3 separate regions of the Homo sapiens genome follow, and regions 1 and 2 are each linked to region 3. The links are contacts of gene promoters, found by promoter capture Hi-C in blood cells and fetal thymus (Javierre and others, 2016). All regions are on one chromosome and are shown on one strand. The core of a region is centred on a gene start or on the middle of the fragment in contact, and the rest is flanking DNA. Distances in the headings are between cores, read along the strand shown. Region 1 overlaps RRS1-DT (RRS1 divergent transcript). Region 2 overlaps LOC102724687 (a long non-coding RNA gene). Region 3 holds the start of TRIM55 (tripartite motif containing 55).

The links. The method cuts DNA at HindIII sites, captures the fragments that hold promoters and counts their contacts. A CHiCAGO score of 5 or more calls a contact.
Region 1: a fragment that was not itself captured here is called in contact with the fragment with the promoter of TRIM55 in region 3 in 4 of 17 cell types (endothelial precursors, naive B cells, total B cells and 1 more); the score reaches 8.5 in endothelial precursors.
Region 2: a fragment that was not itself captured here is called in contact with the fragment with the promoter of TRIM55 in region 3 in 1 of 17 cell types (endothelial precursors); the score reaches 5.6 in endothelial precursors.

What each region holds. Positions count from the first base shown.
Region 1 is chr8:66,416,402-66,420,996 of GRCh38, forward strand. RRS1-DT (RRS1 divergent transcript) reads right to left here. Exons shown (of 3, transcript NR_040434.1): 3 at 3,186-4,595. All of the region lies in intron 1 of LOC102724687 (a long non-coding RNA gene), which reads right to left. Among named protein-coding and RNA genes, the nearest start is that of RRS1-DT, 10 kb to the right of the region's middle. The HindIII fragment of the contact is 3,100 bases long and covers 448-3,547 here.
Region 2 is chr8:66,392,402-66,397,090 of GRCh38, forward strand. All of the region lies in intron 1 of LOC102724687 (a long non-coding RNA gene), which reads right to left. Among named protein-coding and RNA genes, the nearest start is that of RRS1-DT, 34 kb to the right of the region's middle. The HindIII fragment of the contact is 1,383 bases long and covers 2,347-3,729 here.
Region 3 is chr8:66,125,763-66,130,487 of GRCh38, forward strand. It overlaps TRIM55 (tripartite motif containing 55), which reads left to right and starts at 1,367. Exons shown (of 10, transcript NM_184085.2): 1 at 1,367-1,674; 2 at 2,542-2,714. The coding sequence starts at 1,507. RefSeq lists a silencer at 913-1,185. The HindIII fragment of the contact is 5,122 bases long and covers 1-2,431 here.

The sequences.
Region 1 (4,595 bases), core at 748-3,247, 290 kb after region 3:
TTCCTCTTCTTTTTTTTTTTATTTTGTTTGGGTTTTAAAAATTATTATTATTATTATTATTATTATTATTATTATTTTAGAGATGGGGTCTTGCTCTGTTGCCCAGGCTGGAGTGCAATGGCAAATGTCAAAAATGTTGCAAGAAATAGGACAAACATAATTTTGAATTCATAGTTGAGCTTTCATGAAAGGAAAAGATAGTTTCAGAGACCAAAAGCAAAGAAAGAACTAGAAACTAGAGAGAATGTTACAGCAGCCCTGGGAGGGTGGAAAGGATGGGTGCTGATCTCCAACACCTAGCGATTTGGATTTAACTGCTCATGGGAAAAGACCTCGGGCCACATGAGGTGGGAAATTAGAAACAACATCCCCAAATAGGCCTAGATGAAAGGGTAAACTAAAAAAAGTAAAAATCCAACCAGTAATGGAAGTAAATTATAATAAAGAAGCTTGAATGGCATAACCTGGATCGGGTGTGAAAAAAATATTTTACCTGCGCTTGAAATGATGGATACCCCATTTACCCTGATGTGATTACTACGCATTGCATGCCTGTATCAAAATATCTCACATAACCCATAAAAACTAATTTTGAAAATATTTTAACTCAATTTTGCTATGGGCTCCTTCTTATGTGGGTTTGGGGTTTAGATTTACATAACCCAAATGATCTAGGAGCCCCTAAACCAAGTTATTAATTTTTAAAAAAGGTTTCCAGCTAACAATGAAGCAAATTCAAAACTTCTCTGAGAGGACATGCCCTTAATCCAGATTACACAGGATTCCCACAGATAAAGCCTTGCCAAAAACAAGTGCATAACTCAAAATTACCAAACACATGGAAAATCAATCAACATACACAACAAAAGCAGTATTAGGCCTTCGGAGTGTTTAGATAATAGAGCTAACAGATGGAGACCATAATACATGTTCTAAGTAAAGACCTAAAAGACAAACTTTAAATATGAAAAAAGCCCAAGATACTATGTGAAAAGAACAGACTTGAAAACAAAACAATTAGAATTTTTACAAATCAAAAGTCTAGCGTGCTCATTAAAAGTTCAATTGATTATTTATTTATGTATTTATTTATTTTAGAGGCAGGGTCAAACTCTGTTGCCCAACTTAGAGAATCACAGCTCACTGCAGACTTGAACTCCTGGGCTCAAGCAATCCTCTTGCCTCAGCCTCCTGAGTAGCTAGGACTACAGGCACATGCCACCACACCTGGCTAATTTTTATAAATTAAATTAAAACCGCAATTACTTTTGCACCGACCTAATTTTTTTTTTTTTAAGAAATGATGTCTCACTATGCTGCCTAGGCTGGTCTCAAACTCCTGGCCTCAAGCTATCCTCCCATCTCAGTCTCCCAAAGCACTGGGATTACAGGTGTGAGCCACTGCACCTGGCTCTCAATAGATAGTTTACAAAGCAGTTAATATAAATATGAAGGGAAAATTAGTGAACTGGGAAACCAACCTGAGGGAGTACCCTGAAGACAGCACACAGAAACAAAGCAAAACAAAGGCCTAATGTATTTATTCATATTCCTGAAAAAGAAAAAAGAAATGGCAGGGCAAATACTCAAAATGAGAAAGACTAATAATGTTAATGAAAGACATAAACCCTCTGGTTCAGGAAAGAGAAATCCTGAGTATGGTAAATACAAAGAAATCCACAGTTAGAACTATTTTGGTGAAACCACAGAACCCGAAGACACTGCGAAGACCTTGGATGAAGCCACAGAGAAAACAGAAGTAAGTAGACAATGAGATAGAGTTTTGGGTGCAAAATGTTTATTAGGGATCAACTCCCAGGAGAGGAAAAGGGTGGAAGGAGAACTGAGCAGAGGGAGAAATCACACTGTGATGTGGCCTGACAAGGCCTCAGCCAACCCAGCAGGGAGCTCAGAGGAAAGAGTAACCTTTCAGAGTGTCCTGCACTGGGCTGAAACGGGTGGCCAGGTCTGTCTATCCCTGCCACGCTCAGTTGCAGAAGGCAGGTATTCCATAGAACATGAGTTCAGGGGAAGCAGTTCTCTGCAGCTGAGACAGATCTGAAAAGAGCTGACAGGTAGAGGCTGTGTGATGGTCACAGTCCTCCCCATCTGGACAGGAAGTGCCTCCTGGAAGAGGGATCTGGGAGGCACATCTCTGCATCTAACATAGGAGTAATCTACATGGAATGACAATTCAACTGACAGATTTTTTAGCAGCAGCAAGAAAACAAAACAAAATAAAACAAAAGATAATGGGATAATATCCTCAAAGAACTGAAAAAAAACAAAAAACAAAAAAGAAAAACTGGCAGCCTGGATTTCAAATCCAGCCAACTTACCATTCAACAGTGAGGGTGAAATAAAGCCACAGGAACAAAGACTACAAGTGTTTACTACTAATTGACCCTCACCAACAAAACTACTAAAAGATGTGTTTCAGGAAGAAGGAAAATGAACCAAAAAGGAAGGGCCGAAATGTAAGGAGTGATGAGCAAAGAAATATATAACCATATGTCCAAATTTCACTATATAAAATAGTGTTTTGAAGATGATTAATCTGTAGTGCCTAAAAACAAGATGGAACTAAAACTCAGGAAAATAGTAGTGTTTATGAAAAAGAGTGTCGTCAGAGTTAAACCATTCAAAAATTCATATATTTGATAGGAGAAGGGTAAAGTTGTTTAACTTTAGATTTAAGTCAATTATGCTGTCAACACTTAAAGGATCACCCCAGAAGGATAGAAATTTCCAAACCATAGGAAGTTAAGGTTAAAATGTAAAAGAAAACTCAAGCGAGCTATTAAAATGTAGGAGCAGAGGAAAAAATAGAAATAGAAAAGTCCAGGTAGACAGATAGCACAAAATAAGATAGAAATAAATTCAATACATCAGTAATTACAATAAATATAATCTAACTGTATTAATTAAAAGTCAGATATTGGCAGTTTTCATATAAAAAACAAATCAACAACAAAATTCAGATATATATTGCTTAAAGAGACATATAGCTAAAGCAAAAGGATGCAAAGAGGTTGGAAACAAAAAAATGAAAAAAGATGTACCAGGTACACACTAACCAAGAACAATATAGCTATAGTGTCATTGAAAGCATTTTCAGGAATAAAGATGTTCGCTATGTTATAATAAAAAGATAAAAGGAAAACACCACCAGGAAGATTCAGCAATTCAAAATGTTATGCTTTTAATATTAGAGCATCAAATACAGAATGGGAATTTATAATCAAAGTAGAAAGTTTCAACACATCTTTCAGTAACTGATAGATCAAGAAAACACAAAATTAGTAAGAACATGGAAGATTTAAATAATAAAGTTAAGAAAATACCATTGTGGTTATGTCTTCACTGGTCTAAAACCTTCCATGACTCCCTATTGCCTATAGCATCAAATTGAAATTCTTCTTCTTGATCCTAAAGTTGCACCACAGTTGGCACCATCCTGACCATTTGCCAAGCCTATTTCTTACCTGTCCCCAATACAAATCATCTATTCTAGGCAAATCAAATTGCTAGTGAACCAGAAAGAAGAAGCTTTATGATGTAGTGTTTATGTGCATGGACTCTGAGATCGGACTGCAAAGGTTCAAATCCTGATTCTACAAACTATTAACTGCATAGTAACTTAATAACTTAATCTTTATGACCCTCAGTCTTCTCATCTATAAGATGAGGATATTGATAACATCTACCTCTTAGGCCTGTTGTGGGATTTATAAAGACAATCAGTGACTGACATATTATACTTGCCATAAGAATTAGCTACATCCCTTTATTCATATTGTTACCATCTACTGGAATGCTCCTTTCCTTCTCCTATCTATTAAAACTCAGGCTCCAAAGCCAACTCAGGAACTTCCTCTTTCATAAAGCCTTCACCAGTTACTCCCTCCAGCCTTCATTTATCTCCCTCTCCTACAATACAGTAGTTCTTAACCTTGTGAAAGAGGGATAGGGAGTCACAGATGCCACTGAGAATCTGATGGGAAAAAATCTTCTATTCATAAAAATGCACATGCATACACACATTTGCATAAAACTTCAAGGGATTCATGTCCCTCTGAAGCTCACCCATGGAACCCCAATTACAAACATCTGACTTCAAGTCTATGCTTCACCATCACCTACCCTGTTCTCCTGAGGCCATCTTAACAAAAGTACGGACAGCTAACAAGGAGCTGGAAGAGGCACAGAGAGAAGCTGGTGAAGCTCACTTCATACATAAGGAAATTCACAGAGAGATAAAGTGACTGGCCAAAGCCATATACAACTATGGAGTGACAGAGATGGAGCTGGAGGCTGTCTCCTGACTACCCCTATAGAGTTCTTTGCAAGTGTGCTTGATGAACTAATCTCCAACTCACAGAACTCTAAAACTAAGAAATCATGTTAGCCCATTTTTCAGGTGGGGTGATGATCCCTTAGGGAATTTGTCTCCAGGTAATCAGGCCAAAAGTCCCAAGACTCATACTCAGAATAATAATTACTAAACATACTAGTAGTGTTTGGTTTTTGTTTTCTTTTACTTTACTTCCTTGTATTAACATTTCCTCACTAACTTTCTCTGAAGCAATATCAAA
Region 2 (4,689 bases), core at 1,788-4,287, 270 kb after region 3:
ATAGAAGCAGCATTCTGATGAATACTGAAGCTCATTGTGAGAGAAGGTGCCATTACTGGAAAAGAGGAGTATTTAAGATGGGTATTACTAATAGGAGTTAGGCCAAGGGGAGCCCTCAGGCAGGGCATCATCTGATGTGATGGCTGGCTTCATGTATTTGAAAAAGGGAGCGATTTATTTAGTGCTGCTCCTGAGGGCAGTATGGAGCCTGCTGAACCAGGGCCCATCACAGTGGACCAGCCTGGAGTGTTCAGGGCCTGCAGCCTGGGTTTCTCCCCTTTCTTGCTCCATATTCTTAGAAAAGTTACTTACTCTTTGTTGATCTTGGTTTTCTTTTTTTAAAAAATATTTTTACTTTCTTTTTCTGTGAATTTGAGACAGCATAGATCTTGGTTTTCTTATCTGTAACATGGAGATAAAGAATAATGCCTACTTCATGGGGTATTGTAAGAATTTTTTTAAATTTTTTTTTTGTTTGGGGGGCTACAGGATCTTACTCTGCCACCCAGGCTGGAGTGCAGCCTCAACCTCCTGGGCTCAAGTGATCCTCCCACCTCAGCCTCCCAAGTAGCTGGGACTACAGGCAGGCAACACCACGCCAGGCTAATTTTGGATTTTTTGTAGAATCAAGGTCTCGCCATGTTGACCAAGCTGGTCTTGAACTCCTGAGCTCAAGCGATCCGCCTGCCTCAGCCTCCTAAAATGCTGGGATTACAGGCGTGAGCCACCACGCCCGGCCATATTGTAAGAATTTAATGAGGTGCTACTTATAAAGCATTTGGCATAGTACCTTGGCAAATAAGTTGTTTATATTATTAGAGGCCAGAACTACCAAAGGTGTCTGCTTTTTGTTCACTGTCTTAGATGCGGGAGAGAATATTTGACCTTAGATTTGTCCGCCTGCATCTTTCTCCTGACGCCAACCTCAGTTCCTCCTCTGACTGCCTCTCTCCATCTGTATTGCAAAACACCAAACTCTCTGCCAAAGAACACATGTAAGTGACCAAAACAGCAAGAATTGCTGATCTTTACTCTCACAGGCACTGACAGTTGCCTGGCAGGATCAAGGGAGAGCTTATTAAGAGGGAGGGTTTTTTGTCATTACATATGGTTGGATAGGGAGAAAGTATGGCCCACTGGAGGGAGAGCTCCAGTCATTCTCCAGAACACAGAGTGGGAGTCAACACATTCTGAGTCAGTCACCAATACAACTTTTGGCCAAAACCCATTTTCCTGTCTTTGATTTCACCATATGACCCCTGCTGATTGCTCTGACCCTTCCCACCACAATGCGCACTTACACCTATTTCACCCAAATCACATAAGGCTGGTAACAAAGAAGTAACACCATGGGCCACCACTTGGCCAGGTTACCTTCCTCCTCCTGACTCTAAAAAAAGGTACAATGGAGAATGCACAAATTTGACAACAACAAAATCAATGGAATAGCTACATTCTTATGACAAATTATGCCAAGTCTGAAGGCTTCTGAGCATTTCCTGTTGTCATAAAGGCAAAAACACATTTCATTATTTAGAAAATCTGAGCATCAACAAGATAACAAGTCTGACCTTTGTATCCAAGCCCTTTATAACTTTGGGGCCAGAACCGGTAGAATGGGGAAGAGTCCACTCTGTTCTCTTTAAGTTCTTCTGGAGAATTTCTGCTCAATTCACTCTTCTTAAAATGTCAAACTCCTTATATCTATATATACAATCCTTTGCCTTATGAATTAAGGTCCTCTGACTCCTGTACCTTCAGTGGACCAATGACAGTTTCAGGATTTGAGCAGCTAAGCTTGAGTGTGAATTCAGTCTATGCTCTCCTGGGGTTTCCAATCTGTGCTGTACTTAGGTTTTGTTTTTTCTTTTTTCTTTTTTTCCCCACTGTCTCACTTTCCCAATGTACTTAGGTTTATTAAATGAGTTTACGTATCTCAAATACAGGATAGTTTTTGAAACTGAAATATCTTAAATTTATAAGAAAAACTTGGCCTTCAGATTCACAAATAATCCAAAAACTTATAAATAATTAAAACCTCAACCTTCTCCTTCATGAAAAATTTAGTCAGAATTCTTAATAAAATAAAGTGATTTAAACTCTAGCTCATATAACATAGGATTAAATATTTCTAAATCAGATTGCTCAAAAGATACAAAAAGCCTCAATAATTCATGGACAGTCAGGAATGAGGTTGAGCTGAATGAGCAGAAAAATGATGTATAAGATTAGACACAGCTTGGTCTTCCCAAGCAGGTGGCACAGCAACACTTCACCTCTCACAGCAGCAAAAGCAATTCACCATCATATGCTACTATCTTTTTTATTTAAGAATAGCATTTAACAAGCTTATTTTAGAATCTGATTCATTTTCATTTTTAGGAAATTTAAAGGCCTTAAACCTTCTCCATACTGTGTGTGATTACACCTAATTAAAGTTCACATCTTTCGCAGAAAGGTGGGATATCAGTTCTAATTTTACGCACTGGTGTGATGGAGGGCAGAAGGCATTAGGCTGCAGGCCAATAAACCCAGGTTTATTCCTGACTTGGTCACTACTTTTCTGGATTTTCTTAAATGCCTCAGTTTTTCCATTCATAATATATGAGCATTAATGTCTGGCCCTTATCAGAATTCTCTATGGCAAATTATGTAATCACCTTTCATTTTAAAACTATTTAAACTATTGAGCCCGTACTGTATGATAGACACCATCCTATCTGCTATAAATAAAGTAAGGAACAAGAAAGTCATACTCTAACATTTGTTACATTTGTTCAAAAAATTTGTACTGCTATCCAATAATTGATATGACACTTTCAGGAACCTCTGAAGATACATGAAGTCAATAAGTCAACCAACAAGTCAACAAACATTTGTTGAATATTTACAATGTGCAAGACATTGTATCAGATACAATTATAAATAAAAATGTACCTCACTAGACGTATGCTGCTAGAGGATACAGCTCACGTTCATCATTACACCCTGTATCCCCGAAGTCTAGCATAGTGCCTCGTACTCAGCAATGCTCAATAAAGAATTGTTGAATGGACAAATGTATGACTGTGGGAGTGAAAAAAACAATCAAGGGCCCTGCACTCAAGGGGTTAGAATTTAATAGGGAATTTAAAGCATGTGTGCATCCACTCATCAACTACAATAAATAATAGTATGCCATAAAAAGACGCAAAGGAAACAAAAGAATTTAAAGCGGAAACTCTAACAGATACTTGTACACCAGTGTTCATAGCAGCTTTATTCACAATAGCCAAAAGTTGGAAACAATTCAAATATCCATTGATAGATGAATGGATCAACAAAATGTGGTGTATACATAACAATAAATTTAATTCAGCCAGAAGGAAATTCTGACACGTTACAACATAGATGAACCTTGTGGACATTATGCCAAGTTAATTAAGCTAGGCCCAAAAGGACAAATATTGTATTATTCCACTTACATGAGATCCCTAGAATAGTCACATTTATAGAGACATAAAGTAGAAGAATCATTACCAGGGGCTATGAGGGAGGGGGAATATGGAGTTATTGTTTCATGAGTAAAGGATTTCTGTTTCAGATGATGAAAACGTTCTGGAAATGGATGGTGGTGGTGGCTATGCAATGAGAACATACGTAATGCCACTAAACTGTACATTTTAAAAACAATTAAAATAGTAAATTTTATGTTATGGATTTCAGTACAATTTTTTTAAGCCATGAAGAAGCTTGGGAGGCACTGAGAACATCTGCCTGGGATAATCAAGGAGGGGTTTTCTAGAGATGGTCCTATTTGTGCTTGCTCTTCCTGTTAATCCCTGCAAATCAAAGTTCATACTGTGGATAATAAGAAGCAAGCATTCATTTTCATGTGGTTCACCAGCTTTATATGATTCCTTATACAAGAAACTAGTAAGACAGGTTGCTCTGGGAAGAGGCACTAGAAGCCTAGAGGTTTAGGGATTTGATGGCCTGGGGTAGAAAAAGACTTACTTTTCACTGTGCATTTATTCCTTTTTGTTTAAAATACAAATATTTGCATTTCCCTGATCATTAGTGATGTTGAGCATTTTTTCATATGTTTGTTGGCCATTTGTATGCCCTCCTTTGAGAATTGTCTATTCATGTCCTTAAGCCCACTTTTTGATGGGATTGTTTGTTTTTTCTTGCTAATTTGTTTGAGTTTGTTGTAGATTCTGGATATTAGTCCTTTGTCAGATATACAGATTGTGAAGACTTTCTCCCACTCTGTGGGTTGTCTGTCTACTCTGCAGACTGTTCCTTTTGCAGTGCAAAAGCTCTTTAGTTTAATTAAGTCCCAGCTATTTGTTTTTGTTTTTATTAAATTTGCTTTTGGGTTCTTGATCATGAAATCCTTGCCTAAGCCGATGTCTAGAAGGGCTTTTCCAATGTTGTCTTCTAGAATTTTTATAGTTTCAGGTCTTAGATTTAAGTCATCGATCCATCTTGAGTTGATTTTTATATAAGGTGAGAGATAAGGATCCAGTTTCATTCTCCTACATGTGGCTTGTCAATTATCCCAGCACCATTTGTTGAATAGGGTGTCGTTTCCCCACTTTATGTTTTTGTTTGCTTTGTTGAAGATCAGCTGGCTGTAAGAATGGCCAAAATAAAAAAAAAATCGATGTTGGCATGGATGTGGTGAACAGGGAACACTTTTACACT
Region 3 (4,725 bases), core at 117-2,616:
TTACTAGATTCTCAATAAGCTCTCCGTGCACACAGCACTAAGACCACACATAACTGACCTACACTTCACTGGTAATTTAATTCACACCAGGGATATGTTAACAAAATGTGTTTATTGCCCAAGGTTTTTAAAATGAAGGAGAAAGAAAGCCGAAATTTATCACATATAAACAGACTTGGATTTCTTTTTTATTTTTGATCTGATTTAAACATTTTTAAATACAATATGTATTGGTTAAACTGTTGCTTCACAAAATCCTGATGAATGTCAGAATCGATGTTTATGACTCAAGAGCAGACCAAGAATATCAGAAATGACCAGAGAAACTATGGTTTAACAAGTCACCTTGGAGGAAGGGGAAATGCAAGGGAGAATAGGTATTTTGGAGGCAGATGAAATGCAGATATGGAAGTAGGACTCCATTTATACTTCAGTTGTCAATGGCACTGGTAACTGTCCCCCAAGGGATGACAAAATAAAATAATAGATCTGCCACCTCCAGGTGCCTGCCAGTTACTACCTCATTACAGATTATTGTTGCAAACTATTATATAATTTAAGAATTTAAATAATCAGTAAAAGACTATCAAATTTTCTTTGTGTTTTTGGGTGTATGTAGGAGGTGGGGCAGTATAGGATGAAAGAGGGCCAAGGAAGAGGAAAGCAATGTGGAAGAGCAAACAGCATACTAGAGTTGTTTTATAATGTAACTTTTTTCTCAAATAATTAGATCATCCACTGGTTTTGAATTTTTATTTATGCATGTATTTATTTATTTATTAGGTGGATACCTTTATGGTGAAGGGATTTGAATTTAGCTTTTAAATTGGAATTTTTCAAAGACCACAACCCCAGCTGACAAAGATGAAATACTTAACATTAAGAAAGTCTTTTTGATGATTGCCTTTGTGAAGCCAGGATAACAATTTTCGAGACATGTTTTGTTCATTTTCACCTAAGAAGGTGCTATTAGGCTACTTTCCGTGACTCAATTCCTACACTCTCAAGACAGGGCTGGCATTAGTTACACAGACTCTGTGCTGCGTTCTGCCCCTTCCTGGAGAAGCCATCGCCAAGTTCTCAGTGAGTGCTCACAGAGGGCATGGTTCAGTGGCTAGGCATGCACATTTGCATTTGTTGTTGACAACTGTCAGCTTCGACCTCCTTCTCCTCACAACCCCGTCTAAATGGGGTTTGTAATCCTCCTTCCCACCCACTCTCTTCACTCCCTGGGGCAAGAATGTTGACTCCTGCTCTCCGTCACCTGTCAGGATCCATCCTCCTGTCACTGGCTTATATGGACACGTCAGCCCACCGTCACGTGACCGCAGGCTGCTAAAAACAGCTCCAGCACCCACTCCAAACCAGGGCCTGAAACAATGTCCTCCACCGAGAGAAACGTAAAGGACACTTGATCACACAATCCCTGGAATAATATCCAGGAAACACTTGCTGGAGCCACTCGCAGCACCCTTCCCTGGCAGCACACTTGGGGACAGCGAGGAGATGAGCGCATCTCTGAATTACAAATCTTTTTCCAAAGAGCAGCAGACCATGGATAACTTAGAGAAGCAACTCATCTGTCCCATCTGCTTAGAGATGTTCACGAAACCTGTGGTGATTCTCCCTTGTCAGCACAACCTGTGTAGGAAATGTGCCAGTGATATTTTCCAGGTAGGTTTGTTTGGAATTTGGTTGAGGGGAGGGGGTGGAAAAGATTCCCTCCTCTTGGAATCAAGTGCTTAACATTGAGGTGAAATCCTTTAAAAAACTTTATAAGGTTGCCGGGCGCTTTGGCTCACGCCTGTAGTCCCAGCACTTTGGGAGGCTGAGGCCAGTGGATCACCTGAGGTCAGGCCTTCGAGACCAGGCTGGCCAACATGGCAAAACCCCATCTCCACTAAAAATACAAAAAAAAAAAAATTAGCTGGGCATGGTGGCGGGCACCTATAATCTCAGGTACTTGGGAGGCTGAGGCAGGAGAATTGCTTGAACCCAGGAGGCGGACATTGCAGCGAGCGGAGATCGTGCCATTGCCCTCCGGCCTGGGCAACAGAGCAAGACTCTGTCTCAAAAAAAGAAAAACAAACAAACAAAAAAACTTTATAAAGTTGCATTTACTTTCAAGAAAAACACGTTTCTTTTAATGATTTGGTTTGTGTCCTCTTTACTCCCAAATCTAGTTTTATTTTAATACTAAGAATCATATTTTTTTTTAAGTCAAACCATTTAATGTGTTTCAAAACTATAAATGAGTAACTGCTGAAGACATGAGTGTGGAGTTTCTGGCTGGAACTTTTGGTTCTGAAAGTGGTGGACGGAAAAGCACCTTACGTGGACAATGGTATATTCGCAGATGACTGTGGATAAGGTCTGACCCTGTGTTTCAGGACCACTTGCTGAGAAAGCCCTGAGGGATGATCTTATGGCAAGCTTAAAGTAGAAGTTCATGTTGTTTGTAGTAGCAGAGAGTGAAAATAAGTCTCAGAGAAGCTGCTTGTGGCATTACCCAATTCCTTTTTTCTTACTTGGCAAGAACAGGCCTCTAACCCGTATTTGCCCACAAGAGGAGGTACCACCATGGCATCAGGGGGCCGATTCCGCTGCCCATCCTGTAGACATGAAGTGGTTTTGGATAGACATGGGGTATATGGACTTCAGAGGAACCTGCTGGTGGAAAATATCATTGACATCTACAAGCAGGAGTCCACCAGGTAACACTCTTCCACTCTTCCATGTGTCAAGCCCATCTGAAACTTGTTTTTGTTTGTTTGTTTTAATGGGTTGCTACGCTGAATGCTTGTTTATCAATCACAGACTGTTTTATGGAAAAATGGTTTTCCAAGTCAGTCCTTCCCAGTGAGACTGAGAGTTGCTCACAGCAGGAGAGAGGGGAGTTGGTGCCCATGCTTTTGTATCAATTTAAGAATGAAGTGACTCATTAACACCAATCCATTCCAGATGGTGATGCTGAAAGAGACATACTGCTGTCCCCCTCCACCTTAAAGCCTGGTATTACATCCATTTTACACATTTTGCACTTCACAGGCACTTTGTAGCTCCAGATCCCTACAAAGCAAAGAAAAAAAAATCTAGTAAATACTTAATAGAAAATTAATAGAAATGGCATCTTCCGAAGTAGCCCAGTTCCTAGTTCAGACAGTCTTGCCTTAAAATTGTTTGGATGATAATAAAAACAAAATCCTCTAACATAGGTTGTCACTGTATTTACTCTAAGGGAAGTCACAAAGCAAGGCAAAACCCTGGCCTTTAGGGACTTAAACTTCAGAGCCATGAGGAAAAAAAAGGGTGAAATTCAGGTTATGTTTCCCTATTCCTTATACTGTATTTACTGCATAGTCAGCATTCACTTGTTGATTGTGAATAACATCGTGATAGCATTATATATCTATCCATTCATTTTTAAAAAATAACAAAAAAGGCTTCTTATTCACCAAACCACATTGGCTATAGAATTCCTTTCCTAGACACAATGCTGCGGGAAGCTTATTCCTAGAAGGCACGGTGTGAAGAGCCCCTTTTCAATTGTGTGCAGGTCAGTCCAGTCCACAAAGCTTGATAGCAATATTGAGACCATCTAGAAATGGCCTCATTGTGATTCCATTAGGGGACACGTATTTATGGAACATCTGCAGAGCTCTAAGAGGCTTGTGCTCTTGGAAGGAAAGCTGTTCTATAAATCTAACATAATTATTATAATTATTATAGCTATTAATTTCCGCTAAAGATCCAAAACTAAATTAGACAGTACCAGGATCTAGATGGGTTTGGGGAAGAATTGCTGATGACATATTGCAGAGATTGCAGCTGGCTGTTTCCCTTGCTTCCAAAGTCTCTTGACAAGAACAAAAGTACTATTGCTGTTGCTGTTACTTTACAGATTTGATCTCATTGTATTTCACTACTTTAAAATACAAATACACACTTGTCTCTTAAAAACTTAACCAGCCAATTAAAAACCAATTAATTATGAGATTGATGCAAAAGTAATTGCGATTTTTGCAATTACTTTTCATGGCCAAAACAGCAATTACTTTGCCACCAACCTAATATTAAGAGAGTTTATATAACAAGAGTTTCAGTGCTAGTCCAGTGTCTTGCACAGAATAGTTGCTCCATAAATCCCAGCTGATTAAGCAATACCACAAATATTCTTACGTAACAAGTTTCAGAGCTAGTACAGTGCTTTGCACAGAATAGTTGCCCCATAAATCCCAGCTGATTAAGCAACACCACAAATATTCTTTCATGTTCTATTTATTGCAATAAATTTATGTTTTGTTACTTGTCACAGTGGGAACTTGAGACATGAAAAAATAGCAATACTTGTTATGAAATCCAGAGAAGAGATGTTAAAACTTGCAGTATTGGTAAAACTACAAAACACATCTTCACCTTAGCTATGAAGTTGGCTTGGTGCAGCTGCCAAAAATAGTACCCAGGCCTGGGAAGTAAATTGCGTAAAAGCAATGAACCAAATTTCCAACAATAAAGCTCATAGTTGAGTGAACTAGGGATGCTTTTGTGATTTTCTGTGATTTTGTTATGCTGTTTTTTCTTGAACTTGAGACTTTCCTGTGGGACAATTTTACTTGGTAGCAAAACCACAAGTTGCACAGAGCACTTGGCCACATGTCTGGGAGGAAACGCAGTTGTCCCCTGGGGGCAGACAGCCTTACTAGACCAGAATCTTGAGCCTCAGGG